Regions from separate parts of the Homo sapiens genome. Here regions 1, 2 and 4 are each linked to region 3. Evidence: promoter capture Hi-C in 16 types of primary human blood cells and fetal thymus (Javierre and others, 2016). All regions are on one chromosome and are shown on one strand. The core of a region is centred on a gene start or on the middle of the fragment in contact, and the rest is flanking DNA. Distances in the headings are between cores, read along the strand shown.

The links. The method cuts DNA at HindIII sites, captures the fragments that hold promoters and counts their contacts. A CHiCAGO score of 5 or more calls a contact.
Region 1: the fragment with the promoter of KASH5 here is called in contact with the fragment with the promoter of NTF4 in region 3 in 1 of 17 cell types (erythroblasts); the score reaches 5.7 in erythroblasts.
Region 2: the fragment with the promoter of FUT1 here is called in contact with the fragment with the promoter of NTF4 in region 3 in 1 of 17 cell types (neutrophils); the score reaches 5.3 in neutrophils.
Region 4: a contact is called between a fragment that was not itself captured here and the fragment with the promoter of NTF4 in region 3, in 1 of 17 cell types (endothelial precursors). The highest score is 6.0, in endothelial precursors.

Annotation. Positions count from the first base shown.
Region 1 is chr19:49,382,649-49,390,024 of GRCh38, reverse strand. KASH5 (KASH domain containing 5) reads right to left here and starts at 1,776. Exons shown (of 20, transcript NM_144688.5): 1 at 1,698-1,776. LOC101928295 (a long non-coding RNA gene) reads left to right here and starts at 1,944. Exons shown (of 3, transcript NR_110729.1): 1 at 1,944-2,669; 2 at 7,077-7,174. The HindIII fragment of the contact is 10,613 bases long and covers 1-6,312 here.
Region 2 is chr19:48,748,018-48,755,335 of GRCh38, reverse strand. FUT1 (fucosyltransferase 1 (H blood group)) reads left to right here and starts at 2,695. Exons shown (of 2, transcript NM_001384359.1): 1 at 2,695-2,846; 2 at 4,053-7,318. The coding sequence starts at 4,055. The coding sequence ends at 5,152. RefSeq lists a cis regulatory region at 1-88, promoters at 1-100, 1-209, enhancers at 1-590, 1,907-2,493, 3,699-4,338 and a silencer at 2,609-2,658. The HindIII fragment of the contact is 14,557 bases long and covers 1-5,238 here.
Region 3 is chr19:49,060,835-49,068,470 of GRCh38, reverse strand. NTF4 (neurotrophin 4) reads left to right here and starts at 3,653. Exons shown (of 2, transcript NM_006179.5): 1 at 3,653-4,732; 2 at 6,462-7,343. The coding sequence starts at 6,474. The coding sequence ends at 7,106. It overlaps KCNA7 (potassium voltage-gated channel subfamily A member 7), which reads left to right. Exons shown (of 2, transcript NM_031886.3): 2 at 1-1,074. The HindIII fragment of the contact is 7,079 bases long and covers 1,324-7,636 here.
Region 4 is chr19:49,318,932-49,326,284 of GRCh38, reverse strand. It overlaps SLC6A16 (solute carrier family 6 member 16), which reads left to right and starts at 1,094. Exons shown (of 12, transcript NM_014037.3): 1 at 1,094-1,237. The HindIII fragment of the contact is 1,121 bases long and covers 1,881-3,001 here.

The DNA of each region.
Region 1 (7,376 bases), core at 527-3,026, 320 kb before region 3:
CTCTGAAGCTCCTGCCTCTTCCTGTCCCTTTTCTCTCCGTCGGGCAACCCCTAGGTCTCTCCTCATCATGGCCCCAAACCTGCTGCTCCCCTGGGTTCCAACTCAGGATGTACATGGTCCCCCAAGCCCAGGCCACCTCCTCCTCATCCCTGCCAGCCCCACTTGCAGCTGCTCTGGGCAGTCCCTGCAGCAGTGACAGGAGTTTGGGGGGCCCCATCCTGCCTCCATTCCACCCAGGCCGACCCAAAACCTTAGTGGCCGCACTCTGGGGGCTAGAGAGAGACCTGGGCGCTGCTATCATCACAGCGGGCACGGGCGCCCCTTGGGGCCACCAGTCGAGCCTGGGCTCGCCTGTCCTCACCCAGCTCCCCCAGTGCCTGCTCTCCCCAAGCCACGTGAGCCCGCTGCCACCGTTCTGGAAACACGGGTCTTTGAAGAGAGGCCCTTCCAGGGTCTGGAACACCCTGCAGGGTGCAAAGGGGGGCGATGGCCTTGGCTGGGCCCTGGCGCACGGAGTGGGTTCGGGATGGAGTCCTGAGGGACCCCGGGGGTGTTGGTTGATCTCGGGGGTCTGACGGGACTGAGACGGGGACACTGAAGCAGGATGGGGCCCTGGCAGGAGCTCTGGGTGGTGTGGGCCTTGGCGGGCTTTCAAGGGCTCTGACAGGATTTTGGGGGGGTCTCTGACTGGATTTCTGGGGAGTGTCTGGCTGGATTTTGGAGATTTTGATTTCTGTGGGGGTCTCTGACTGGATTTCAGGGGTCTCTGGCTGGATTTCGGGGGTCTTGATTTCTGCGGGGGTCTGATTGGATTTCTGGGGGTTCTCTGACTGGATTTTGGGGGTCTTGATTTATTCGGGGTCTCTGGATTTTGGGGGTCTTGATTTATGCGGGGGTCTCTGGATTTCTGGGGGTCTCTGGCTGGATTTTGGGGGTCTTGATTTCTGCAGGGGTCTGACTGGATTTCTGGGGGTCTCTGGCTGGATTTGGAGGGTCTTGATTTCTGCGGGGGTCTCTGAGTGCATTTCGGGGTCTCCGTTTCTGGGGTGTCTTTGATGGACTTCTGTGCTCTCTGACGGAATCTGAGGTCCGACTGGGTTTGGGAGGGGACCTGCCAGGATTTCTGGGGATCTCTGACACGAGTCTAGGTGGCTCTGCTGATCTGGGGAGAGTAATAGGATTTTGGGGAAAGTTTCTGGCAGGCTCTGAGGGAGAAGTCTGACAATTTCTAGACGATTCTGACAGGATTTCGGGGGTCAACTATAAGATTTCCTGGTGGACTCCTTTCAGTATATCTGAGGGGATGTGGTCAGGATTTTTTTTTTTTTTTTTGAGACGGAGTCTCACTCTTGTCACCCAGGCTGGAGTGCAGTGGCGCGATCTCAGCTCACTGCAACCTCTGCCTTCCAGGTTCAAGCAGTTCTCCTGCCCCAGCCTCCTGAGTAGCTGGGATTATAGGCGCGTGCCACTACGCCTGGCTAATTTTTTGTATTTTTAGTAGAGACGGGGTTTCACTTCCCCGGGATGGTCTCTATCTTCTGACCTCGTGATCCGCCCGCCTCGGCCTCCCAAGTGGTCAGGATCTGGGGGGCCCTGACGCAGGGGTATCTCTCCCACAATATGGGGGGGCTTCGCTAGGATTTCGGTAGGGGCTGGGAAGGGCCATTCTGGGAACCTCGCCGCGGGGCAGGGCGCACCTGGAGCCACGTCCTAGTCTCGGGACACAACGGACATCCACGAACGACGAACGGCAGTTGAGTTGGGGGAGGTGCGCGTGAGCTTTTCCCGCCAGAAAAAGCAAAAGGAGGCGAGGGGTCGCGAGTGCGCGTGCGCAGCGTCTGAGCCCCGCCCCTCCCCGCCCGGACTCCTCTTAAGACGCAGGTGCAAACCGGCGGCCGACGCGTGTCACGCATGCGCGCTGGCGGTGTGGGCTGTGGCCACGGAGTTTGTCTGGTGGTGGAAGGAGGGGGTGGCTGCGCCCGCCATGCTGGGGCTCGTGTTTTTCTCTTCCGCTTCAGGCTTTGGTGAAATGGGCTGAGGAAGGGGGAATTGAACTGAGAGACTCCTTGTCCGTCCCCCATTTCTTTCTTTTTTTTTTTTTTTTGAGATGGAGTCTCGCTCTGTCGCCCAGGCTGGAGTGCAGTGGGACAATTTTAGCTCACTGCAACCTCCGCCTCCCGGGTTCAAGCAATTCTCCTGCCTCAGCCTCCCGAGTAGCTGGGATTACATGCGCCCGCCACCACACCTGGCTAATTTTTGTATTTTTAGTAGAGACGGGGTTTCACCACGTTGGCCAGGCCGGTACCGAACTCCCAACCTCAGGCGATCCACCCGCCTCGGCCTCCCAAAGTGCTGGGATTACAGGCGTGAGACACAGCGCCTGGCCTGTCCTTTTTATGTATTGCCATATTTTCTTTTCTTTTCTTTTCTGTGAGATCCCTGTTGAGTTTTGTTAACAAGGCTATGCTGATATAATGTGTGGAGAAGTGTTCTCTCTTTTTCTATTCTTTGAAAGTGCTAGTGTAGGATTGATGTTATTTATTTTTTATGTGTTTGGAAGAAGTCACCAGCCATCTGGACCTAGAGTTTTCTTTGTGGAAAGACTTTAAATTACAAATTCTATTTCTTTTATAAAAATACAACTATTCAGATGTTCTATTTTATTTCTGGTAAGTTGTGGTTTTGGTAAGTTGTGGTTTTCAAGGAATTTTTCCATTTTATCTAAAATTTCAAATAATTTGCATAAAGTTCATAATATTGTCTTTTTTTGGAGGGGGAGAAACACGGTCTTATGTTAGGCTGGTCTCGAACTCCTGCCCTCAAATGATCCTCCTACCTTGGCCTCCCAAAGTGCTGGGGTTACTGGCATGAGCCACCATGCCCAATCTTTTTAATATCTGTAAGATCTGTGGTGACGGATATTAATAATTTGTGCCATCTCTCTTTTCCCCCCTCCCTTCCCCTCTGCTCCTCTCCTCCCCTTCCCCCACTCCCCTCCCCTCATCTCCCCTCCCCCGTACCTTCCCCTCCCCTCCCGCCTCCCTTCCCTTCTGCTCCTGTCCTCCCCTTCCCCCACTCCCCTCCCCTCATCTCCCCTCCCCCGTACCTTCCCCTCCCCTCCCCCTCTCTTCCCCTCTGCTCCTCTCCTCCCCCCACTTTCCTCCCCTCATCTCCCCTCCCACCTCCCTTCCCCTCCCCCTCCCTTTATCTCCCCTCCCTTCCCCTCCCTTCCCCCTCCCTTCCCCTCCCTTCCCCTCCCTTCCCCTCCCTTCCCCTCCGCGTCCACTGCCTCCCCTCCTCCCTCCCCTTCCTCCCCTCCCCTCCCCCCTCCTCTCTTTCTGAGACAGGTTCTCACCCAGGATAGAGTGCAGTAATGTGACCCTAGCTCACTGCAGCCTCCACCTCCTGGGCTCAAGTAATCCTCCCACCTCAGCCTCCTGAGTAGGTGGGACTACAGCCATGTGCCCTCAAGCCCCTGATCTTGCTGTTTTTTTTTTTGTTTTTTTGTTTTTTTTTTTTGAGACGGAGTCTCGCTCTGTCGCCCAGGCTGGAGTGCAGTGGGGCGATCTCGGCTCACTGCAAGCTCCGCCTCCCGGGTTCACGCCATTCTCCTGCCTCAGCCTCCCGAGTAGCTGGGACTACAGGCACCCGCTACCACGCCCGGCTAATTTTTTGTATTTTTAGTAGAGACGGGGTTTCACCGTGTTAGCCAGGATGGTCTCGATCTCCTGACCTCGTGATCCGCCCGCCTCGGCCTCCCAAAGTGCTGGGATTACAGGCGTGAGCCACCGCGCCCGGCATGATCTGCTGTTCTTTTTCCAGCTTTTTCCCCCCAACTTCTTGAGGTGAATGCTTAGGTCACTGATATTTTTAGGTTATTAAGCCATTGATTTTTTTTTTGAGACGGAGTTTCACTGTCACCCAGGCTGGAGTGCAGTGGTGCGGTCTTGGCTCACTGCAACCTGTGCCTCCCGAGTTCAAGCGATTCTCCTGCCTCAACCTACTGAGTAGCTGGGATTACAGGCGTGCCCCACCATGCCTGGCTAATTTTTTGTATTTTTAGTAGAGTCGGGGTTTCACCATGTTGGCCAGACTGGTCTTGAACTCCTGACCTCGGGTGAGCCGCCTGCCTTGGCCTCCTAAAGTGCTGGGATTAGAGGCGTGAGCCACCGTGCTGATGCCAGGTCATGTGCCCAGCCAGGTCATTTGATTTTTAAAGATCTCTTCTAATACATGCGTTTAGAGCCATCATTTGCCTTCTAAAAACTTCTGTAGCTACACTTGACACATTTGTTATGCCACATTTCTATTATTATTATTATTTTTTGAGACAGAGTCTCGATCTGTCACCCAGGCTGGAGTGCAATGGCACAATCTTGGCTCGCTGCAATCTCTGCCTCCTGGGTTCAAATGATTCTCCTGCCTCAGCCTCCCGAGTAGCTGGGATTACAGGCATGCACCACCACACCTGGCTAATTTTTGTATCTTTAGTAGAGATGGGGGTTTCTCCATGTTGGCTAGGCTGGTCTCGAACTCCCGACCTCAAGTGATCTGCCTGCCTCAGCCTCCCAGAGTGCTGGGATTATTGGCATGAGCCACCATGCCTGGCCACGTTTCCATTATTATCAATTCAAAATATTTTCTAATTTGACCTGAGTGATAATTTTTAGAGATATATTGCTTACTTTCCAAATATTTTATGACTTCCCTGCTATCTTTTTATTATTTATTTATTTTTGAGACGGAGTCTCGCTTTGTCGCCAGGTTGGGTGCAGTGGCGTGATCTGGGCTCACTACAACCTCTGCCTCCTGGATTCAAGTGATTCTCCTGCCTCAGCCTCCTGAGTAGATGGGACTACAGGCACGCACCACCACAGCCAACTTTTTTTTTTTTTTTGTATTTTTAGTAGAGACGGGGTTTCACCATGTTGGCCAGGATGATCTCGATCTCTTGACCTTGTGATTCCTCTGCCTCAGCCTCCCAAAGTGCTGAGATTACAGGCGTGAGCCACTGCGCCCGGCCCCCTGCTATCTTTTTATTATTGCTTCCTACTTAATTCACTGTAGTCAGAAAACATACAAACATACTCTATATGATTTCATTTCTTTGACATTTGTTGAGATTTGCTTTATAGTCCACGATTTCATCTATTTTAGCAAATGCTTCATGTGTATTTGAAAAGAGTAGCTTGGCGTGGTGGCTCATACCTGTAATCCCAGCACTTTGGAAGGCCAAGTTGGGTGGATCACCTGAGGTCAGGAGTTCAAGACCAGCCTGGCCAACATGGTGAAAGCCCGTTTATACTAAAAATACAAAATTAGCCAGATGTGGTGGCATGTGCCTGTAATCCCAGCTACTCAGGAGGCTGAGGCAGGAGAATTGCTTGAACCCAGGAGGTGGAGGGTACAGTGAGCTGAGATCGCGCCACTGCACTACAGCCTGGGCCAGACAGAGCGAGACTTCATCTCAAAAAAAAAAAAAGAAAAAAAAAAGGCCAGGTGTGGTGGCTCACGCCTGTAATCCCAGCACTTTGGGAGGCTGAGGCAGGCGGATCACCTGAGGTTGGGAGTTTGAGACCATCCTGGCCAACATGGTGAAACCCCATCTCTACTAAAAATAAAAAAAAATTAGTCAGGCATGGTGGTACACGCCTGTCTTCCCAGCTACTCAGGAGGCTGAGGCAGGAGAATTGCTTGAACCTGGGAGGCAGAGGTTGCAATGAGCCGAGATTGTGCCACTGGACTCCAGCATGGGCAACAAGAGTGAAACTCTGTTTCAAAAAAAAAAAAAAAAGAAAAAAAAAAGAAAAGAACAGAGTGTGTATCCTGCAGGTCAGCTATGTCAGGTCAAGTTTGTCAATCATGCTGTTCAAATCTTTAATATCTTCACTGTTTGCTTCTTGTACTGAATGACTGTGGATTTTTCCATCTCTCAGTTCTGTCATTTTTGCTTTATATATGTTGAAGCTGTATTATTAAATGCATACAGATTTAGAATGGTTATATCCTCCTGGTGACTTGACCCCTTTATTACCTTGAAATGTCATTTTTTACTTCTAGCAATGCTTTTTGCCTTAATGGCTACTTTGATGTAGAGATTTCTCCAGCTTTCTTTGGTTAGTGTTTATATAGGGTATCTTTTTCATCCTGTAACTTTCCATCTTTTTGTGTGCTTATATTTAAGGCATGTCTCTTGTAACAGCATATAGTTGGGTTTTGTTTTATGCTGACTGCTGATTTTTGACTTTACCAAAACTCTTAGTGAAGTGTAATATTTATATAGAACAGTCCATAGATCATAAGTGATAAGCTTTATGAATTTTCAGAAATTGAACACATCTGTGTTATCTAAACCGAGATCAAGATACAACATACTACCTGCCTCCAAGATTCTTCCTCATGGCTCCTTCCAGTCCCTACTCTCCTAGGGGTAACTTTTACCCTAATTTCTTTTCTTTTTCTTTCTTTTTTTTTTTTTTTTTTTGAGACAAAGTCTCCTTCTGTGGCCCAGGCTGGAGTGCAGTGGCGCAATCTTGTCTTACTGCAAACTCCGCCTCCTGGGTTCAAGTGATTCTCGTGCCTCAGCCTCTGAGTAGCTGGGATTACAGCCATGTGCCACCGTATCTGGCTAATTTTTGTATTTTTAGTAGAGATGAGGTTTCACCATGTTGGCCAGGCTGCTCTCGAACTCCTGACCTCAGGTGATCTGCCCACCTCAGCCTCCCAAAAAGTGCTGGGATTACACGCATGAGCCACTGTGCCCGGCCTACCCCAATTTCTAATGGCATAGATAAGCTTTATTTGTTTTTTTATTCAGAATAAATAAAACCATACAGAAACATTTTTGTTTCTGGTTCTTTTGTTAAATGTCATATAAGATTCAACCATGTTGCATGTAGTTGTAGATCAGAAAATCTGTGCCTTTTATTTGGAGTATTTAGTGTCAGTTACTTAAAAATATCTTTATACAGTATTAAAAAAATCTCAAACATACATAAAGTAAACATAACGAACCCGTATATACCTAACACATAGCTTTAGCAATTATCAACGTTCTGCCTTATTTTTGGAAACAGGGTCTCACTCTGTTACGCAGGCTGGAGTACAGTGGCACATTCTTGACTGACTGCAACCTCCACCTCCCAGGCTCAAGCGATCCTCCCACCTTGGATCTGTGAGTTGATGTCTTTCATCAGTTTTTTAAAATTCTTGCCCAGGAGTTCTTTAGTATTGCTTCCTCCTCATTGTCTTTTTCCTCTCTTCTAGGACTCCAGTATGTATGTATTAGACCTTTTAACCATGACCTATATGTCTCATATGTTTTTAATGTATTTTCTACCCTATTTCTGTGTAATTTAATCTAGATATTTTCTATT
Region 2 (7,318 bases), core at 1,446-3,945, 310 kb after region 3:
GGGAAGACAGGTTGGCTAATTTCCTGGAGCCCCTAAGGGTGCAAGGGTAGGCCTTCTGTGTCTGAGGGAGGAGGGCTGGGGCTCTGGACTCCTGGGTCTGAGGGAGGAGGGGTGGGGGGCCTGGACTCCTGGGTCTGAGGGAGGAGGGTCTGGGCCTGTACTCCTGGATCTGAGGGAGGAGGGGCTGGGGAACTTGGGCTCCTGGGTCTGAGGGAGGAGGGAGCTTTGGTCTGGACTCCTGGGTCTGAGGGAGTAGGGGCTAGGGATCTGGACTCGTGGGTGTGAGGAAGGAGGGGCTGGGGTCCTGGACTCCTGGGTCTGAGGAAGGAGGGGCAGGGGGCTTGGACTCCTGGGTCTGAGGAAGGAGGGGCCGGGAGCCTGGACTCCTAAGTCTGAGGGAGGAGGGTCTGGGGGCCTGGACTGCTGGGTGTGAGCAGAAGGGTCTGGGTGCTGGGAGTCCCGAGCCTGGGGAGATGATGGTTAAACTTCTGGGAATCAAGTCAAACTCCTGAGTCTTTGACATTGATGTATCTTGAATGGGAGGGTCAGTCTGTGGGGAAGGATTACCCAGGTGCCGAGGCAAGAGACTGAAGGCACAAACTGTTTCAGTATAATAAAGAAAATAGTTAGAATAAGAATAGTTATCATACAAATTAGATATAGAGATGATCATGGACAGTATCAATCATTAGTGTAAACATTATTAATCATTAGCTATTACTTTTATTCTTTGTTGTATAACTAATATAACCAGGAAACAACCGGTGGGTATAGGGTCAGGTACTGAAGGGACATTGTGAGAAGTGACCTAGAAGGCAAGAGGTGAGCCTTCTGTCACACCGGCATAAGGGCCTCTTGAGGGCTCCTTGGTCAAGCGGGAACGCCAGTGTCTGGGAAGGCACCCGTTACTCAGCAGACCACGAAAGGGAATCTCCTTTTCTTGGAGGAGTCAGGGAACACTCTGCTCCACCAGCTTCTTGTGGGAGGCTGGGTATTATCTAGGCCTGCCCGCAGTCATCCTGCTGTGCTGTGCTTCAATGGTCACGCTCCTTGTCCTCTTGCATTTTCCTCCCGTACTCCTGGTTCCTCTTTGAAGTTCGTAGTAGATAGCGGTAGAAGAAATAGTGAAAGCCTTTTTTTTTTTTTTTTTGAGGCGGAGTCTCGCTCTGTCCCCCAGGCTGGAGTGCAGTGGCGTGATCTCGGCTCACTGCAATCTCCGCCTCCTGGGTTCACACCATTCTCCTGCCTCACCCTCCCAAATAGCTAGGACTACAGGCGCCCTCCACCACGCGCCCGGATAATTTTTTGTATTTTTAGTAGAGACAGGGTTTCACCGTGTTAGCCAGGATGGCCTCCACCTCCTGACCTTGTGATCCGCCCGCCTCAGCCTCCCAAAGTGCTGGGATTACAGGCGTGAGCCACCGCGCCCGCCCGAAATAGTGAAAGTCTTAAAGTCTTTGATCTTTCTTATAAGTGCAGAGAAGAAAACGCTGACATATGCTGCCTTCTCTTTCTGCTTCGGCTGCCTAAAAGGGAAGGGCCCCCTGTCCCATGATCACGTGACTTGCTTGACCTTATCAGTCATTTGGACGACTCACCCTCCTTATCCTGCCCCCCCTTGTCTTGTATACAATAAATATCAGCGCGCCCAGCCATTCGGGGCCACTACCGGTCTCTGCGTCTTGATGGTAGTGGTCCCCCGGGCCCAGCTGTTTTCTCTTTATCTCTTTGTCTTGTGTCTTTATTTCTTACAATCTCTCCTCTCCTCACAGGGGAAGAACACCCACCCGCAAAGCCCCGTAGGGCTGGACCCTACGTTAGCCTGCCCTGCTCGGGGTTGGCGATGCTGGAGGTGGGCCTTGGACCAGAGAAAATGCTTTAATTAGGTGACAAGCGGGCAGAGGCCTTTGTCTCTGGCGCCGGCAGCCACGGCCCCCGCTGACGGCGTGGGAAACAGACCCTGTTCCACTCCGGTCTCCAGCCTTGGAATGGTTGCCTTCGTGCAGTGCAGGTCTGGAAAGTAGCAGTTTGGCACGGGACCCTAGAATTCCCCAAAAGGAGTGACTAGGGGCTGGGATTCTGGAATTTGAGTGTGGACGGTGAGGCGGGGGGTGTGGGAGATCGGAGACCCTGGTGGGCGCGGGAGCACCTGCAGGCTGGAGGCCCTCGCGCGCTCCGGCGGCAGCCTGGCAAACAGGTTCTCCATCCCCCAGGAGGACGCGGCAGAGGGCGGACGATCGCTCCACTCGCCGGGACCAGGTGCGGGGGCCCTGCCCAGCCGCTGGGGCGTGGCCAGGCTCGAAGCACCCAGGTGTCGGGGGCCGACTCTAAGCCCTGGCACCGGAAGAGAGAGGGCGGCGGATTGGACCTCCCGGCTCCAGCATTGCAACTGGGCGCTCCGTCTCCTGGTCCACGCAATGATGCTGCGGCTGCTCAGAAGCCAGGTAGCCTGCCCTGGGTGAAGCCTTCGCGCAGGTCAATGACGGGGCGGAGGGGCAGGGCGCGGTCCCCTGCATCCCCGATCTGGGGAGCGGTGGGCCCAGGGGCCATCGCCTTAGCCCCTGGCGCTGGGGCTCGGCGCCAAGTGACGGGCGGGGCTCCACCTTCCAGCCATCCGCCCGGCCCGGGAGGGCGGACGCTGCGAGACTCCCGGCCGCGCCCTCTCCTTCCTCTCCTCCCCAAGCCCTCGCTGCCAGTCCGGACAGGCTGCGCGGAGGGGAGGGCTGCCGGGCCGGATAGCCGGACGCCTGGCGTTCCAGGGGCGGCCGGATGTGGCCTGCCTTTGCGGAGGGTGCGCTCCGGCCACGAAAAGCGGACTGTGGATCTGCCACCTGCAAGCAGCTCGGGTAAGTGGGGACTGCCCCACTCAGTTGTTCCTGGGACCCAGGAACAACTCCTTCAGAACCAGGAGGTGCACCCCCAACCTCTTCTCCAGGTCTTCCTAAGGCCCTAGGAATCTCCGCCACCTCCCCAGCCATTACTCCTCCAGGAACCAAGATGCTCCTTCCGCTCCTGACCCTCCAGCCTCTCTTGTTTTACTTGAACTATCGTTTCCCATCACCACCTCTGTGGTGGATTTTGCGCCTCACAGACAGGTACTCCTGAGAAACAGGCTGGTGGAAGAGTCCAGTATCAGCGGAACTTACAGGAGGGGAGACTCGAGATTCCTTCAGGAAAGGTGTAGGAACCTGGACCACTTTCTTTTTTTTTTTTTTTTTTTTTTTTTAAGACAGGGTCCCTCTCTGTCGCGCAAGCTGGAGTGCAGTCAGCGGTGCTATCGCGGCTCATTGTGAGCTCCGGGGATCCTCCCGCCTTAGCATCCGGTGTAGCTGAGACCACAGACATGTGCCACCATGCCAAGCTAATTTTATTTATTTTTTTTTGGAGACGGAGTTTCACTCTTGTTGCCCAGGCTGGAGTGTAATGGCATGATCTCAGCTCACCGCAACTCCCGCCCCCCGGGTTCAGGCGATTCTCCTGCCTCAGCCTCCCGAGTGGCTGGGATTACAGGCATGCGCCACCATGCCCGGCTAATTTTGTATTTTAAGTAGAGACAGGGTTTCTCCACGTTGGTCAGGCTGGTCTCGAACTCCCAACCTCAGGTGATCCACCCACCTTGGCCTCCCAAAGTGCTGGGGTTACAGGTGTGAGCCACCGCGCCTGGCCCATGCCAAGCTAATTTTAAAATTTTTTTGTAAGAGTGCTCTGTTGCCCAGGCTGATCTTGAACTCCTGGGCTCAAGGGATCCTCCCATCTCAGCCTCCCAATATGCTGGGATTACAGGTGTGAGCCACAGTGCCCAGCCAAACCATGGCTATCTTGAAAACCACTTGTCTTCCAGTCCCCATGCCCCGAAATTCCAAGGCTCTCATCCCTGAAACCTAGGACTCAGGCTCTCCCTACCTCAGCCCCAGGAGTCTAAACCTTTAACTTCCTCTTTCCCTGGGACTAAGGAGTGCTGCACCCCAGGCGCCTCCCTTACCCCACATCCCTCCTCAGCCTCCCCTCCTCAGCCTCAGAGCATTTGCTAATTCGCCTTTCCTCCCCTGCAGCCATGTGGCTCCGGAGCCATCGTCAGCTCTGCCTGGCCTTCCTGCTAGTCTGTGTCCTCTCTGTAATCTTCTTCCTCCATATCCATCAAGACAGCTTTCCACATGGCCTAGGCCTGTCGATCCTGTGTCCAGACCGCCGCCTGGTGACACCCCCAGTGGCCATCTTCTGCCTGCCGGGTACTGCGATGGGCCCCAACGCCTCCTCTTCCTGTCCCCAGCACCCTGCTTCCCTCTCCGGCACCTGGACTGTCTACCCCAATGGCCGGTTTGGTAATCAGATGGGACAGTATGCCACGCTGCTGGCTCTGGCCCAGCTCAACGGCCGCCGGGCCTTTATCCTGCCTGCCATGCATGCCGCCCTGGCCCCGGTATTCCGCATCACCCTGCCCGTGCTGGCCCCAGAAGTGGACAGCCGCACGCCGTGGCGGGAGCTGCAGCTTCACGACTGGATGTCGGAGGAGTACGCGGACTTGAGAGATCCTTTCCTGAAGCTCTCTGGCTTCCCCTGCTCTTGGACTTTCTTCCACCATCTCCGGGAACAGATCCGCAGAGAGTTCACCCTGCACGACCACCTTCGGGAAGAGGCGCAGAGTGTGCTGGGTCAGCTCCGCCTGGGCCGCACAGGGGACCGCCCGCGCACCTTTGTCGGCGTCCACGTGCGCCGTGGGGACTATCTGCAGGTTATGCCTCAGCGCTGGAAGGGTGTGGTGGGCGACAGCGCCTACCTCCGGCAGGCCATGGACTGGTTCCGGGCACGGCACGAAGCCCCCGTTTTCGTGGTCACCAGCAACGGCATGGAGTGGTGTAAAGAAAACATCGACACCTCCCAGGGCGATGTGACGTTTGCTGGCGATGGACAGGAGGCTACACCGTGGAAAGACTTTGCCCTGCTCACACAGTGCAACCACACCATTATGACCATTGGCACCTTCGGCTTCTGGGCTGCCTACCTGGCTGGCGGAGACACTGTCTACCTGGCCAACTTCACCCTGCCAGACTCTGAGTTCCTGAAGATCTTTAAGCCGGAGGCGGCCTTCCTGCCCGAGTGGGTGGGCATTAATGCAGACTTGTCTCCACTCTGGACATTGGCTAAGCCTTGAGAGCCAGGGAGACTTTCTGAAGTAGCCTGATCTTTCTAGAGCCAGCAGTACGTGGCTTCAGAGGCCTGGCATCTTCTGGAGAAGCTTGTGGTGTTCCTGAAGCAAATGGGTGCCCGTATCCAGAGTGATTCTAGTTGGGAGAGTTGGAGAGAAGGGGGACGTTTCTGGAACTGTCTGAATATTCTAGAACTAGCAAAACATCTTTTCCTGATGGCTGGCAGGCAGTTCTAGAAGCCACAGTGCCCACCTGCTCTTCCCAGCCCATATCTACAGTACTTCCAGATGGCTGCCCCCAGGAATGGGGAACTCTCCCTCTGGTCTACTCTAGAAGAGGGGTTACTTCTCCCCTGGGTCCTCCAAAGACTGAAGGAGCATATGATTGCTCCAGAGCAAGCATTCACCAAGTCCCCTTCTGTGTTTCTGGAGTGATTCTAGAGGGAGACTTGTTCTAGAGAGGACCAGGTTTGATGCCTGTGAAGAACCCTGCAGGGCCCTTATGGACAGGATGGGGTTCTGGAAATCCAGATAACTAAGGTGAAGAATCTTTTTAGTTTTTTTTTTTTTTTTTTGGAGACAGGGTCTCGCTCTGTTGCCCAGGCTGGAGTGCAGTGGCGTGATCTTGGCTCACTGCAACTTCCGCCTCCTGTGTTCAAGCGATTCTCCTGTCTCAGCCTCCTGAGTAGATGGGACTACAGGCACAGGCCATTATGCCTGGCTAATTTTTGTATTTTTAGTAGAGACAGGGTTTCACCATGTTGGCCAGGATGGTCTCGATCTCCTGACCTTGTCATCCACCTGTCTTGGCCTCCCAAAGTGCTGGGATTACTGGCATGAGCCACTGTGCCCAGCCCGGATATTTTTTTTTTAATTATTTATTTATTTATTTATTTATTGAGACGGAGTCTTGCTCTGTAGCCCAGGCCAGAGTGCAGTGGCGCGATCTCAGCTCACTGCAAGCTCTGCCTCCCGGGTTCATGCCATTCTGCCTCAGCCTCCTGAGTAGCTGGGACTACAGGCGCCCGCCACCACGCCCGGCTAATTTTTTTTGTATTTTTAGTAGAGACGGGGTTTCATCGTGTTAACCAGGATGGTCTCGATCTCCTGACCTCGTGATCTGCCCACCTCGGCCTCCCACAGTGCTGGGATTACCGGCGTGAGCCACCATGCCTGGCCCGGATAATTTTTTTTAATTTTTGTAGAGACGAGGTCTTGTGATATTGCCCAGGCTGTTCTTCAACTCCTGGGCTCAAGCAGTCCTCCCACCTTGGCCTCCCAGAATGCTGGGTTTATAGATGTGAGCCAGCACACCGGGCCAAGTGAAGAATCTAATGAATGTGCAACCTAATTGTAGCATCTAATGAATGTTCCACCATTGCTGGAAAAATTGAGATGGAAAACAAACCATCTCTAGTTGGCCAGCGTCTTGCTCTGTTCACAGTCTCTGGAAAAGCTGGGGTAGTTGGTGAGCAGAGCGGGACTCTGTCCAACAAGCCCCACAGCCCCTCAAAGACTTTTTTTTGTTTGTTTTGAGCAGACAGGCTAAAATGTGAACGTGGGGTGAGGGATCACTGCCAAAATGGTACAGCTTCTGGAGCAGAACTTTCCAGGGATCCAGGGACACTTTTTTTTAAAGCTCATAAACTGCCAAGAGCTCCATATATTGGGTGTGAGTTCAGGTTGCCTCTCACAATGAAGGAAGTTGGTCTTTGTCTGCAGGTGGGCTGCTGAGGGTCTGGGATCTGTTTTCTGGAAGTGTGCAGGTATAAACACACCCTCTGTGCTTGTGACAAACTGGCAGGTACCGTGCTCATTGCTAACCACTGTCTGTCCCTGAACTCCCAGAACCACTACATCTGGCTTTGGGCAGGTCTGAGATAAAACGATCTAAAGGTAGGCAGACCCTGGACCCAGCCTCAGATCCAGGCAGGAGCACGAGGTCTGGCCAAGGTGGACGGGGTTGTCGAGATCTCAGGAGCCCCTTGCTGTTTTTTGGAGGGTGAAAGAAGAAACCTTAAACATAGTCAGCTCTGATCACATCCCCTGTCTACTCATCCAGACCCCATGCCTGTAGGCTTATCAGGGAGTTACAGTTACAATTGTTACAGTACTGTTCCCAACTCAGCTGCCACGGGTGAGAGAGCAGGAGGTATGAATTAAAAGTCTACA
Region 3 (7,636 bases), core at 2,404-4,903:
TGTGGTGGCACATGCCTGTGATCCCAGCTACTCAGGAAGCTGAGGCAGAAAGATCCCTTGACCCTGAGAGGTAGAGGCTGCATTGAGCCATGATTGCACCACTGCACTCCAGCCTGGGCAACAGAGGGAGCCCCCGTCTCAACAAACAAACAAAAAGAGCCAGTGGGGGAGGGAGGGACAGAGACCCAGAGGGCAGCGTCAGACACCCAGAGTTGGAGACAGAACAACAGAGTCTCAGGGAAAGAGAACCACAATAGAAAAAGGCAGAAAAGGCCGGGCGCGGTGGCTCATGCCTGTAACCCCAGCACTTTGGGAGGCCGAGGTGGGCAAATTACGAGGTCAGGAGATCCAGACCATCCTGGCTAACACGGTGAAACCCCGTCTCTACTAAAAATACAAAAAAATTAGCCGGGTGCGGTGGCGGGCACCTGTAGTCCCAGCTACTCGGGAGGCTGAGGCAGGAGAATGGCATGAACCTGGGAGGCGGAGCTTGCAGTGAGCCGAGATTGCGCCACTGCACTCCAGCCTGGGCAGCAGAGCAACACTCTGTCTCAAAAAAAAAAAGAAAAGAAAAGAAAAAGCCAGAAAAAGTTGGTGCCCCTGAACCCAAGAGTGATGTACAGTCTATTCCATAGAATCACAGAACAATCCTGAACCAGGCCTGTCACCTACCCTCCCTGCAGCTCAGGAAGGCTGTCAGACAGGCTGGGGGCCTCACTCTGTTTTCCAGGGGAGAAACCTGAGTCTCAGAGCAGGGGAGTGGCTTCCCAAGGTCTCACAGCTTGTCCCCAGGGGCCAGGCAGGCTGTCTGTCTGCTTCACATGTCCCCATCAGCCTGCTGGGACACACGGGTCCTCCTGAGTCCCGTAGCCTCATTTCTTACAGACGGGGAAACTGAGGCTCAGAGCAGCAGGTGTTACCCAAGGTCACAAGGCCGAACATTTTCAGAAATCTTTCAGAACTCAAAGGGCATTTAGAGGAAGAAGGCTGAAATCACTAACACATATAGGGCTTCCTTTGGTATCAAAGTACTTTACTTGGGTTAATTTATTAAAACCTATCCAGTGGTTTACAGACTGTTGTTGTTATTTTTAGCCATACCCACCCCTTTTTTGGGTCAAATAAATCTTCCTTAGAGACACCAGTGGGAAGCATGGGAAGGGAACTGGTTGGAGGAGAACACGCCTCCTCTTGGCAACTCAAAATGCAGCTCAGGAATTCAGTGTGGAAACCCCTGGTTTCATCTGAGCACCTTTTCATACAGCTAAAGAGAAGGTACAGATGGTGAGAGGAGTTTGATAATGGTTGAAATTAATAGAAGCTTTAGGTAGTCACTTCTCTCTGAAATGGAGAGAAAGCCAGATTTAGGGACAGAATGGAGACGGACCTCACAGTGACAAGAGACAGGTTGGACTCCAGCACAGAGACCTAAAGAGGAGACACAGACAGGAACTGAGGCCAGGAGGGAGGAGAGGCACAGAGCAAAAGAGAGAAATCCAAGGGCAAGGGGGAAGAGGGCAGATGGCCGGGAGCGGGAACAGAGACCCCCACGAGGGGAAAGAGAAGCAGACAGTGACCCCAAGAGAGAGGATGCAAGAGGCTCAGCAAGAAGGAGACTGGGACCCAGAGAGGGTGGACAGATATCCAGAGAGAAGAAAACTGGGACCTAGAAAGAGGGGGACAGAGACCCAGAGAGAAGGGGGGACAGAGACCTGGGGGGGAACAGAGACCCAGAGAGAGGGGGGACAGAGATCCAGAGACAGAGAGAGAGACAGAGACCCAGAGAGTGAAGGGGACAGAGACCCAGAGAGAGAGGGGGACAGAGACCCAGAGAGAGAGGGACAGAGACCCACAGACAGAAGGGGACAGAGACCCAGAGAGAGAGGGGGACAGAGACCCAGAGAGAGAGGGACAGAGACCCAGAGAGAGAGGGGGACAGAGACTCAGAGAGAGAAGGACAGACCCAGAGTTGGAGGGAGACAGAAATCCAGAGGGAGGGGAACAGAGACCTGGAGATAGGGGGACAGAGACTGTTTCCCAGTCACTCTGTTTGGAAACCTCATCCCTACTATCCCCTCCAGGACTAGAAGCTAGAAGCTAGAAGCTAGAGTCCTCCTGCTATGCGGCAGGATGTATTGGCTGTTTAGGAACAGGGGAAGGGTGGAGAAGCCGGAGAGGTGACCTGAATGCACACCCAAAGCCTGGGAAGTGGCCCTTCCCCCCACCCCCAATAAATAACTGGAGCGGCCTTGTGTGTTGCCTTGGCTGGGATGGTGAGGAGCAGGAAACACCCTAACCGGGGACACCCTCCTGCCACCTTGCCATGCTATATTTAGGCTGAGGGGGTGTGGGATGACCCTCGAGGCAGGTGTCAGTTTTCCTTCTGAAAATAGCGCAGGCGGAGGGGAGCGGAGTCTCAGGGTAGAGGTGTGGTGGGGTGAGGAGCCCCGCTGCCCTCATGACTGTCCTGAGACACTCCGGCTCCGGTCCCATCCCTGTCTTTCTCAGGGTCTCTCAGGGGCTCTGTCCCCTTCTCGGGGGGGTGGGGGGGTCTGCCCTCACGCTCTCTGGGCCTCTGTCTTCTCTCTGGGCTCCTGCCCTCCCCCACTCTCTCTAGTCTCGGTCCCCCTCTTTCTTTTGGTCTCTCCCCACTTTTCCATGTCTTCTCCCTATCTCTCCCTTCATGTCACCGCGCACCATTTCTCAAGGTAGCTGATTGTTCTTAAGACACATCTGTCTATCTCTGGTCCTATGATACCTTGCACGTCTCTTATCTGAGCTCAGGACAAGACCTTCTCCCCGGTCCCCAGCCAGGAAATTCCAGGGGAGAGGAGTATGCGGGAGCCCCCACATCCACTGTCTCCCCGGGCCTGGGGCCTTATCACTGCCCAAGCCCAGCTGGTTAATGTCTGGCGTGGAGCTCCTGGGAAGTGGGGAGGAGAGCAGAGGGTGGGAATCTGCCCCGGGATTGACACGCAATTGGCAAAAGACGGCAAAGGAATCTCAGGCCCAGACTCCTGGGGCTAATGGAGGAGGAGGCTGGGGGCTGGACTCCTGAGTCTGAGACGGGGCGGGGTTGGGAGGTGGTGGGGGGAACTGTGGGCTTAGTACTCAGGCGCCTGGGGCTGGGGGGAGAGGTGGCTGGGGTCGCAAGTCCTGGGTCTGAGGGAGGAGGGGCCGGATGCCTGGACTCCTGGGTCTGAAGGGAGGAGGGGCTGGGGGCCTGGACTGCTAGGTCCAAAGGAGGAGGCAGCTGGAAACTGGGACTCCTGTGACCAAGGCGGCCGCGTTGAACGAGCCAGGCCTGGCTTCCAAGGTCCCGGCACGCGAGTGCAAGGCAGGATCCCCCGGCCCCTCCTCTGCCGCCCGGCGCCGCCCCGCCCCCGCCCCCGACCCGGGCCCTGCGGAGCGTGAGCAGCTAGCACCCGGCGGGCCAGCGAGCGTCCCTGCAGCCAGCGAGCAGGAGGAGGAGCTGCTGCCGGGCGGAGGGCAGCCGCGGGAGCCGAAGAGGGCGCCCCAGGTAAGATCTCCACTCCTCCTCCCTCGGGATTCCGGCGTCCTGGTCGCCCTGCCCTCGGGTGGGGAGGGACGGGGGCGGGGCCGACCGGGGCGGGGCTTGGCGGAGGAAACTGAGGCAAGAGGGAAGTGTCCCAGATATGCAGCCGGTTTCCCCTGAGGGGTCTCGGAGTCCGGAACCCCCAACCCAAATCTGGAGGATGAGGAACCCGGAGTCTGCATTTCTTAGTATCCGAGAAGGAGGGGCCTGAATTCCAGAACTCCTGGGTCTGAGAGAGGAGGGCACTGGGGGCCTGGATTCCTGGGTCTGAGGGAGAAGGGCGCTGGGGGCATGGACTCCTGGGTCTGAAGGAGGAGGGCGCTGGGGACCTGGACTCCAGGGTCTGAGGGAGAAGGGTGCTGGGGGCCTGGGCCTGGACTCCTCCTGGGTCTGAGGGAGAAGGGTGCTGGGGGCCTGGACTTCTGGGTCTGAGAGAGGAGGGCGCTGGGGGCCTGGACTACTCCTGGGTCTGAGGGAGGAGGGCGCTGGGGATCTGAACTCCTGGGTCTGAAGGTGGAGGCCCTGGGGTCTGCACTACTCGGTCTGAGGGAGAAGGCGGTCCTGGTTGGGTCAGCCTGGGCTCCTTTCACTCTCCACCCTTCCCCTTTCCTGTACCGAGGAGCCAGGGCAGGCAGCCACTCCAGGTATGTGCAGAAGTCTTGGGCGGGCCCTGGCCTGTCCTGTGAGGAGGGAACATTCCAGGAAGCAGCTTGGGGAACCAGGGCTTCTTGAGTGTGGGCCCTCAGGGACCCGGGTGTCCAGGCCAGTTCCGCCCCATCTGGGAGATGAATGGGCCGAGGGGGATGTAATCTCTTCCAGCCTCCTTCATCCACTGCCTCTCCCTTCCCCTATTCTCCCTTCCCCTCCCTCCATCTGCTTCCCATCCCAGCCAGGAGCCATCACCTGGGTAGAAAAGGGGCCTCTGGAAAGGGGGCGGGGCCTTGACTCTTGGGTACCCTGCACTTGAAGAGGAACTCTGGGAAGGGGTTGTTCAGGGATTTGGCCCCTTCCCCACCTGCCTCTATAACCTGTCTATTCTTTTCTTCCCCTAGGTGGTTGCCCCCTCCCTCTCCTGAGATGTCAGGAAGGAGGGGGCCACCTGTGTCCTCCACAGGGGCCCCCCGAAGCCTGGGGACTCCCAGCCCCAGAGCTCCGAGGCGGAGGAGGTGCTGACAGGTCTGGTAACTACTGACTGTTTCCCAGTCTTCTCCACGCCACCCTTTCCCAGAACCACAGGCTTCCAGAATGTTGTAGGGAAACTGCAAAATCCGCGCCTCCACCAGCCTCTCCCAGCGCCAGGTCAATTTCACACACAGGGAAACTGAAGCCTGCCTCAGAGGGGCAGCGTTTTACCTCCTTAGTGGCAGTTTTGAGGTGAACTGGGGTCTCCCTAGGATTCCAGGTTGTGACCTTTCTCTAAATTGTGGAATGTGGCCAGGCGTGGTGGCTTGAGTCTGTAGTCCCAGCTACTCAGGAGGCTGAGGCAGGAGAATGCCATGAACTTGGGAGGCGGAGCTTGCAGTGAGCCAAGATCGTGCCACTGCACTCCAGCCTGGGCGACAGAGGGAGATTCCATCTCAAAAAAAAAAAAAAAAAAATTTTGTTTGGGACCAGGCATGGTGGCTTATGCTTGTAATCCCAGCACTTTGGGAGGCCAGGACACGACTATTGCTTGAGGTTGGGAGTTCAAGACCAGTCTGGCCAACATGGTGAAACCCCATCTCTATTAAAAATACAAAAATTAGCTGGGCACAGTGGCAGGTGCTTGTAATCCCACCTACTCAGAAGGCTGAGGCAGGAGAATCACTTGAACCCAGGAGGCAGACATTGCAGTGAGCCAGGATTGTGCCACTGTACTCCAGCCTGGCCAACAGAGTGAGATTCTGTCTCAAAAAAAAAAAATTGTTTGGAACATCCTCCAAGATGCAAGACTGTCGGTTCCTCAGAGTTGCACAGGAAGGACGGCAGAGTGCAGTTGCCCAGAGGTGAAGTCCCATCTCTGCCATTTGCTGGCTGTGTGACCGGGCACAAATCATTAACTTCTCTGAGCCTGTATTTCAACATCTGTTACTGTTAAGTAATAGTAGTTGAATTATTTTTATTTTTATTTTATTATTATTATTGTTTTTTAAGACGGAGTTTCGCTCTTGTTGCCCAGGCTGGAGTGCAATGGTTCAATCTCAGCCCACCACAACCTCCACCTCCTGGGTTCAAGTGATTGCCCTGCCTCAGCCTCCCAAGTAACTGGGATTACAGACATGCGCCACCACACCCGGGTAATTCTGTATTTTTAGTAGAGAAGGGGTTTCACCATGTTGACCAAGCTGGTCTGGAACTCCTCACCTCAGGTGAGCCGCCCATCTCGGCCTCCCAAAGTGCCGGGATTACAGGTGTGAGCCACCATGCCTGGCCTTATTTTTACTTTTGAGACAGAGTCTCACTCTTGTCGCCCAGGTGGCAGGGGAGTGGTGCACTCTCTGCTCACTGCAACCTCGGCCTCCTGGGTTCAAGTGATTCTCCTGCCTCAGCCTACTGAGTAGCTGGGATTACAGGCGTGCAGCACTATGCCCGGTTAATTTTGGTATTTTTGGTAGAGATGAGGTTTCACCATGTTGGCCAGGCTGCTCTGGAACTCCTGACCTCAAGTCATCCACCTGCCTCAGCCTCCCAGAGTGCTGGGATTAGAGGTGTGGGGCACAGTGCCTGGCCTGTAGTAGTTGAATATTTATTATTAATCTACAAGTTGCGCATTACGCAAGCCCTAGATATAGGGTCCCCCAAACTTCTAGAACAAGGGCTTCCCCACAATCCTGGCAGGCAAGCCTCCCCTGGGGTTCCCAACTTCTTTCCCCACTGAAGTTTTTACCCCCTTCTCTAATCCCAGCCTCCCTCTTTCTGTCTCCAGGTGCTCCGAGAGATGCTCCCTCTCCCCTCATGCTCCCTCCCCATCCTCCTCCTTTTCCTCCTCCCCAGTGTGCCAATTGAGTCCCAACCCCCACCCTCAACATTGCCCCCTTTTCTGGCCCCTGAGTGGGACCTTCTCTCCCCCCGAGTAGTCCTGTCTAGGGGTGCCCCTGCTGGGCCCCCTCTGCTCTTCCTGCTGGAGGCTGGGGCCTTTCGGGAGTCAGCAGGTGCCCCGGCCAACCGCAGCCGGCGTGGGGTGAGCGAAACTGCACCAGCGAGTCGTCGGGGTGAGCTGGCTGTGTGCGATGCAGTCAGTGGCTGGGTGACAGACCGCCGGACCGCTGTGGACTTGCGTGGGCGCGAGGTGGAGGTGTTGGGCGAGGTGCCTGCAGCTGGCGGCAGTCCCCTCCGCCAGTACTTCTTTGAAACCCGCTGCAAGGCTGATAACGCTGAGGAAGGTGGCCCGGGGGCAGGTGGAGGGGGCTGCCGGGGAGTGGACAGGAGGCACTGGGTATCTGAGTGCAAGGCCAAGCAGTCCTATGTGCGGGCATTGACCGCTGATGCCCAGGGCCGTGTGGGCTGGCGATGGATTCGAATTGACACTGCCTGCGTCTGCACACTCCTCAGCCGGACTGGCCGGGCCTGAGACCCATGCCCAGGAAAATAACAGAGCTGGATGCTGAGAGACCTCAGGGATGGCCCAGCTGATCTAAGGACCCCAGTTTGGGAACTCATCAAATAATCACAAAATCACAATTCTCTGATTTTGAGCTCAATCTCTGCAGGATGGGTGAAACCACATGGGGTTTTGGAGGTTGAATAGGAGTTCTCCTGGAGCAACTTGAGGGTAATAATGATGATGATATAATAATAATAGCCACTATTTACTGAGTGTTTACTGTTTCTTATCCCTAATACATAACTCCTCAGATCAACTCTCATGGATTTGATCATTGGTGGCCCTTGGTGTTAAGTTGCTGACTACTCAGTCTCAGAGGACACCACCTTGCTGGGGAGTGGGAGGGGACATTTCACGATGTGGGTGGAGGAGGAGAGAAACTAGAACAGGCAAGCAGATGGCCAGGGGACCTTGAGAACGTGGCCCACAGAAGGCCTTTAAGTATCTGGGAGATGGGGTTCAAATGGGAAATCTTACTTGGTAAGAGGGGGCAAAGG
Region 4 (7,353 bases), core at 1,192-3,691, 260 kb before region 3:
CAGATATGAGAATCCAGCTGTCTTCTATGAAGCCAGACATTAGAGAGATTTGCAAAAATGTAAAATGATGCCATTCTTCTCCCCAAATTTTTTCTTTTTTTTCCTTTTTTTTTTTGAGACGGAGTCTTGCTCTGTTGTCTAGGCTGGAGTGCAGTGGCAAAATCTCGGCTCATTGCAACCTCTGCCTCCTGGGTTCCAACGATTCTCCTGCCTCAGGCTCCCGAGTAGCTGGGATTACAGGTGTGTGCCACCACGCCCGGCTAATTTTTTTTTTTTTTGACTTTTAGTAGAGACGGGGTTTCATCATGTTGGCCAAGCTAGTCTCGAACTCCTGACCTCGTGATCCACCCGCCTTGGCCTCCCAAAGTGCTGGGATTACAGGCGTCAGCCACCGCGCCCAGCGCCAAAATTTCTTTTGGAGTAGAAATTATAGTTATTTTAAATAAAAATGTTATTTTGACACATAATGAATTTTTAAACAATGACTATTTTAGAAATTTATTTTAATATTGATAGATACAACTCACATAAACATACAACCCATATAAATGTAACTCATAAATTATTGGAGTCCTTAATAATTCTTAAGAGACCGGAAAGTATGAGAACGGATGACCTAAGTAAATCTTTGAGTTTTTAATTCTTGTCTGCAGCCCTAGTAGGCTTCTGAGCTCTCTTAAGGCAACGTCCCTGTCTGCCTTGTTGGACGCATATTTAAGGTTTGGTTTCTAGTAGGCGATCTTTAAGTAAATGCGAAAGGTTTGAAGGCTAGAAGGAATGAATGAGACGATTCTCCCACTTCCTACCCTCTTCTTCCTTACATGAAGTGGAAGCAAAGTGCATGTGCCAGAGAAAGGCCTTGTCTTAGAGCCCCGCCTGAAGCGTGGCATCGTGGGTGTCGGGGTGGGGTGCGGTGGGGAAGGGAGTGGCGCGTGAGCAGTCAGAGGATGTGCACACGTGCGTGCGTGTGGGGAGAGAGCAGGGAGTTGGGGAGGGCGAAGTGGTTACAGTGTTTGCTACAGCTGTAGGGAAAGAGTGAGGGGGCGCGGCGGCGCATGCGCAGAGAATCGGCGGGAAAGGCCGCGCGCCAGGCAGATCGAGGGGTGTCGCCCAAACCGATCTGTCGACGCCTGAAGGGGCCTGAGGAGATTGCTAGGCTTCTCAGCTGGGGCTTCTTCACCCTCATTTTTGTCCGACTGGCTGGACTGAAGAACCTGGCAGAAGCCTTGGGGCTAGGGTGAGGGTCACGGCCCAGGGAGCCCTAAAATGTTCCCACATCTGGGGTGTGTGGGGCTGGGCGCCATTTTCGAGGCCCGGGCCCACTGGGCTCCACTGACGGGTGACAGGTGACTGGCTGGGAGCCTCCTGGTTGCCCTGGGCTCTGTGGAGCTGAGGGATCAAAGGGGTCCCTCCTTTACCCCCCACGTAGGACAGAGGAAACTGTCTTCGGCTCTCCTCACTCATCCAGTCCGAGTTTGAGCCAATTCCTTGACAGGATTCGGCCATCAGTCCCTGCCTTTGGGGAAAGCCATCAGTGTCAAGTGCCCGAGTGGCAGAAACCCGGGTCTAGCCCCATCACTGGTCTGTTAGGGCAGTTATTTTCTGCTTTTTGCAGAAATGGGACACCAGCTCCTTATTTTCCTTTTCTGGAGGTTATAGTTCCAGGGAAGGAGGTAATGTGAGGGGAATGGGCATTTCTGGGGGATCCTGAGCACTCCCCACAGGGCATGAGCCTAGGAGTTGCTTGGGATGACGGTGTAGGGGCACCATGGAGGGTTGCACCCATATGGGAAGAGGAGTCCGCCTGGGGCTCAAGGGGCTTTATGGATGTTGGAAGTGGCCAGCTGGCCAAAACTCAGTTCTCTCCCTTCCGTAAAGCTTGCTTTTAAGGACAACTGTTCTAGAATGTGTTTAAGAAACATGAATCTATTATTTTTTATTTATTTATTTATTTGAGATGGAGTCCCACTCTGTCACCCAGGCTGGAGTGCAGTGGCACGATCTCAGCTCACTGCAACCTCTGCTTCCCAGGTTCAAGCGATTCTCCTGCCTCAGCCTCCCAAGTAGCTGGGACTATAGGCGTGCGCCACCACCCCCAGCTAATTTTTTGTATTTTTAGTAGAAACGGGGTTTCACTGTGTTGGCCTGGCTGGTCTCGAGCTCCTGACCTCAGCCGATCCACCCGCCTCAGCTTCCTAAAGTGCTGAGATTACAGGTGTGAACCCCCGTGCCCAGCCTATTATTATTATTTTTAAGAGACAGGGTCTCTCTCTGTCTCCCAGGCTGGAGTCCAGTGGCATGATCACCTCTCACTACAGCCTCGAACTTCTGGGCTCAAGCAATCCTTCCACCTCAGCCTTTCAAAGAGCTGGGATTACAGGCTGAGCCACTGGAGGCTTGGTTTTCACTTATTTTGGGTGTATACCCAGAAGTGGAATTGCTGGATCATATGGTAATTCTATTTTTAAGTTTTTGAGGAACCACCATAGTGTTTTCCATGGTGGTTGCACCATTTTACATTCTGACCAGCAAGGCACAAGGATTCCAATTTCTCCACATCCTCACCAACACTTCTTATTTTCTGCCTTTTTATATTAGCCATCCTAATGGATGCGAGGTATTATCTCATTGTAGTTTTCATTTGCATTTCCTTAATGATTAGTGACGTTGAACATCTTTTCATGTACTTCTTGGAGATTGGTATATCTTCCTTGGAGAAATGTCTATTTAAGTCTTTTGCCCATTTTTGAATTGTGTTGTTTGTTTCTTTGTTGTTGAGTTTTACGAGTTCTCTATATATTCTGAATATTAATCTCTTATTATACATATGATTTTCAGATATTTCCTCCCATTCTGTGGGTTATCTTTTCACCCCTTTGATAGTGTCTCTTGATGCACAAATTTAAAACATTTTAATGAAATCCTGTTTGTTTCTTCTTTTGTTGCTTTTGCCTTTGGTATCATATCCAAGAATTCATTGCAGATCCACTATCATGAAGCTTTTGTCGTATGTTTTATTCTAAGAATTTTATAATTTTAAGTGTTACATTTAGGTCTTTGATTTATTTTGTGTATTTGTATGTGGTGTTAGGTAAGAGTCCATCTTTACTCTTTTGCCTGTACATAATCCAGTTTTCCCAGCACCATTTGTTGAAAAGACTGTCCTTTACTCATTGAGTAGTCTTGGCACCCTTGTAAAAAATCATTTTTCCATACATTGTTTCTGGGCCCTCTATTCTGTTCCCTTGGTCTGTATCTTTATGTGAGTAACACACTATTTTGATTACTATAGCTTTGTAATATGTTTTGAAATCAGGAAATGTGAGTACACCAGCGTTTTTCTTCTTTTTCAAGATTATTTTGGCTGTTCAGGGTCCCTTGAGATTTCATGTTAGTTTTAGGACGTGTTTTTCTATTTCTGCAAAAAAAAAAAAAAAAAAAAAAAAAAAAAAAAAAAAAAAAAAAAAGCTACTAATTCTGTAGATTGCTTTGGGTAATACTGACATCTTAACAGTGTTGTCTTCCAACCCATGAACATGGGATATTTTTCCATTTATTTATGTCTCCTTTAATTTTTTTCAGCAATGTTTTGTAGTTTTCTTTGTACATGTCTTTCACCTTCTTGGTTAATTCTTTTTTTTTTTTTTTTTGAGATGGAGTTTCACTCTTGTTGCCCAGGTTGGAGTGCAATGGTGCAATCTCGGCTCACTGCAACCTCTGCCTCCCAGGTTCAAGTGATTCTCCTGCCTCAGCCTCCTGAGTAGCTGGGATTACAGGCATGTGCCACCATGCCTGGGTAACTTGGTAATGGAAACGGGTTTTCTCCATGTTCGTCAGGCTGGTCTCGAACTCCTGACCTCAGGTGATCTGCCCACTTTGGCCTCCCAAAGTGCTGGGATTACAGGCTTGAGCCACCGTGCCCAGCCAAGTTAATTCTTAAGTATTTTATTCTTTCTGATGCTATTACAAATGGAATTGTTTTCATAATTTTCTTTTCAGATTGTTCATTGTTAGTGTATAAAAATGCAACTGAGTTTTGATTGTTGACTTTGTATCCTGCTACTTTGCTGAATTCATTTATTAGCTCAAAAATTTTTTTGGTGAAAATTTTAGGATTTTCTACGTATAAGATCATATAATCTTTCTAGTTTGGTTTCCTTTTATTTATTTATATTTTTGCCTAATTTCTCTGGCTAGGACTTCCAGTACTATGTTGAATAAAAGTGGCAAAATTAGACATTCTACGCTTGTTTCTAATCTTAGAGGAAAAGCTTACAGTCTTTTATCATTAAGTATGACATTTGCTGTGAGTTTTTCGTATATGGCTATTATGTTGGGATATTTTCCTTTTTTTTTTTTTGCTGAGACATGGTGTCACTTTGTGACCCAGGCTGGAGTGTAGTGGTGTCATCATGGCTCACTGTAGCGTTGACCTCCTGGGCTGAAGTGATTCTCCCATCTCAGCCTCATGAGTAGCTAGGACTACAGAAGTACATCAACACACCCAGGTAATTAAAAATTTTGTTTGTTTGTTTGTTTGTTTGTTTTTGAGATGGAGTCTTGCTCTGTCACCCAGGCTGGAGTGCAGTGGTATGATCTTGGCTCACTGCAACCTCTGCCTCCCAGGTTCAAGCGATTCTCCAGCCTTAGCCTCCCAAGTAGCTGGGACTACAGGTGCACACCACCACATCTGACTAATTTTTGTATTTTTAGTAGAGATCAGGTTTCACCATGTTAGCCAGGCTGGTCTTGAACTCCTGACCTCAGGTGATCCACCCGCCTTGGCCTCCCAAAGTGCTGGGATTACAGATGTGAGCCACTGCACCTGGCCCCAGGCTGGTCTTGAACTCCTGGGTTCAAGTGGTCATCAGGCCTCCCAAAGTGTTGGGATTACAGGCATGAGTCACCATGCCCAGCCGTATTTTCCTTTAACTCCTAGATTGTTGAGTTTTTTTTTTTTTTTTTATCATGAAAGGGTATTGAGTTTTGTCAAATGTTTTTTCTGCATCAGTTGAGAGAATCATTATTTTTCTTTCATTTTGTTAATGTGGTATATTATATTGATTGATTTTTGTATGCAGAACCATCCTTGCATTCCAGGAATAAATCCCACTTGGTCATGGTATATAATCCTTTTAATATGCTGCTGAATTAGGTTTGGTAGTATTTTTTTTGAGGATTTTTGCATCAAAGTTCATAATGAATATAGGTCTGTAGTGTTCTTTTCTTATAATGTCTTTGTATGGCTCTGGTATTAGGGCAATGTTGGCCTTATAGGATGAATGAGGAAGTGTTCCCTCCTCTCCAATTTTTTGGAAAAGTTTGAGAAGGATTGATATTAATTCATTAAAGGTTTAGTAGAATTCACCCATGAAGCCATCAGGTCCAGAGCTTTTCTTTGTTGAGAGATTTTTGATTACCAATTCAATCTCCTTACTAGTTATAGATCTATTCAGATTTTCTGTTTGTGATTTAGTCTTAGTAGATTTGTATTTCTAGGAATTTGTCCATTTAATCTAGGTTATCCAGTTTATTGGTGTACAGTTGTTCATAAGTTCATAGTACTCTCTTATAATCCTTCTATTTCTGTAGAATTGGTAATAATGTCCCCATTTTCATTTCTGGTTTTAATCATTTGAGTCTTCTCTTTTTTTCTTAGTACATCTAGTTAAAGGTTTGTCAATTTTGTTGATATTTTTAAAGAAACAACTTTTGGCTTCTCTATTGTTTTTCTATTCTCTATTCATTTCTGCTTTAATTTTTATTATTTTCTTCTGCTAGCTTTGGGTTTAGTTTGCTTTTCTAGTTTCTTAAGTTTTAGAGTTAGGTTATTGATTCAAGATCTGGTTTTTTTTTGTTTGTTTGTTTGTTTGTTTTTAGAGGGAGTCTTGCTCTGTTGCCCAGGCTGGAGTGCAGTGGTGTGATCTCGGCTCACTGCAACCTCCGCCTCCTAGGTTCAAGCGATTCTCCTGCCTCAGCCTCCTGAGTAGCTGGGATTACAGGCGCCCACCACCATGCCTAGCTAATTTTTGTATTTTAATAGAGATGGGGTTTCACTATGTAGGTCAAGCTGGTCTTGAACTCCTGACCTCAAATGATCCACCCACCTCAGCCTCCCAAAGTGCTGGGATTACAGGCGTGAGCCACTGCATCCGGCCTCTTTTTTGTTTTTTAATGTAACCATTGATAGTTATAAATTTCCCCCTTGGCATTGCTTTTGTTGCCTCCCATAAATTTTAGTATGTGTGTTTTCGTTTTCATTTATCTGTAAGTATTTTCTAACTCCCCTTGTAGTTTATTCTTTGATCCATTGGTTGTTTAAGAGTGTGTTGTTTAATTTCTACAAATTTGTAAAATTTTCAATTTTACTTTTGTGATTCATTTCTAACTTCATCCTATTGTGGCTGGAGAAGATATTTTGTATGATATTTATCATTCTAATTCTATTGAGAAAAAAAGGAAATTTGTGGCCTACAAATTTGTGGTCTCTCCTGGAAAATGTCCCATGTGCACTTGAGAAGAATGTGTATTCTGCTGCTGTTGGCTAGAGTGTTCTGAATACATCTGTTAGATCTGGTTGGTTTATTGTGTTAAGTCCTCTATTTCCTTGCTTATCTTCTGTCTGCTGCTTCTGTCCATTGTTCGTAGTGGGGTATTAAAGTCTCCAGTTATTATTGTAGAACTGTCCTTTTATCCTTTCAATTATGTGAGTCTTTTCTTGATATATATATGTATATGTATATATCGTATAGGTATATGTATATACATATACACATATACACATATATGTATAAGTATATGTATATACATATACACATATACACATATGTATATGTATATGTATTTATATGTATATACAAATATATATATATACACACACACATATATGAAGGAATTAGGGAGGAGTAAAGAAGAGTACTTGGTCAACATACAGCAGGTTCATCTCATTGTACAAATGTAAGTTTCTCAAGCTTCAGTTCTATGGGCATCTGGCTTGTTGGAAAATTGGCCTGGTTTCATTTTCCCATCCTCCCTTTATTTTGGACCTCCAGTTACACATTTTAGGCCATTTGATATTGTCTCACAGTCACTAATGCTCTGGTAATTGTTTTCAGTCTTTTTTTTTTCTTTGTGCTTCATTTTGGATTGTTTCTATTGCTATATCTTTAAGTTCACTGATTTATTAAAATCTGCCAGTAATCTTCAGTGAAATTTTCATTTCAGGTGTTGTATCATCTCTAGAAGTTCTATTTGATGTTTAAAATATATCATGGCTAGGCATGGAGGCTCATGCCTGTAATCCCAGCACTTTGGGAGGCCATGGTAGCTGGATCACATGAGATCAGGAGTTCG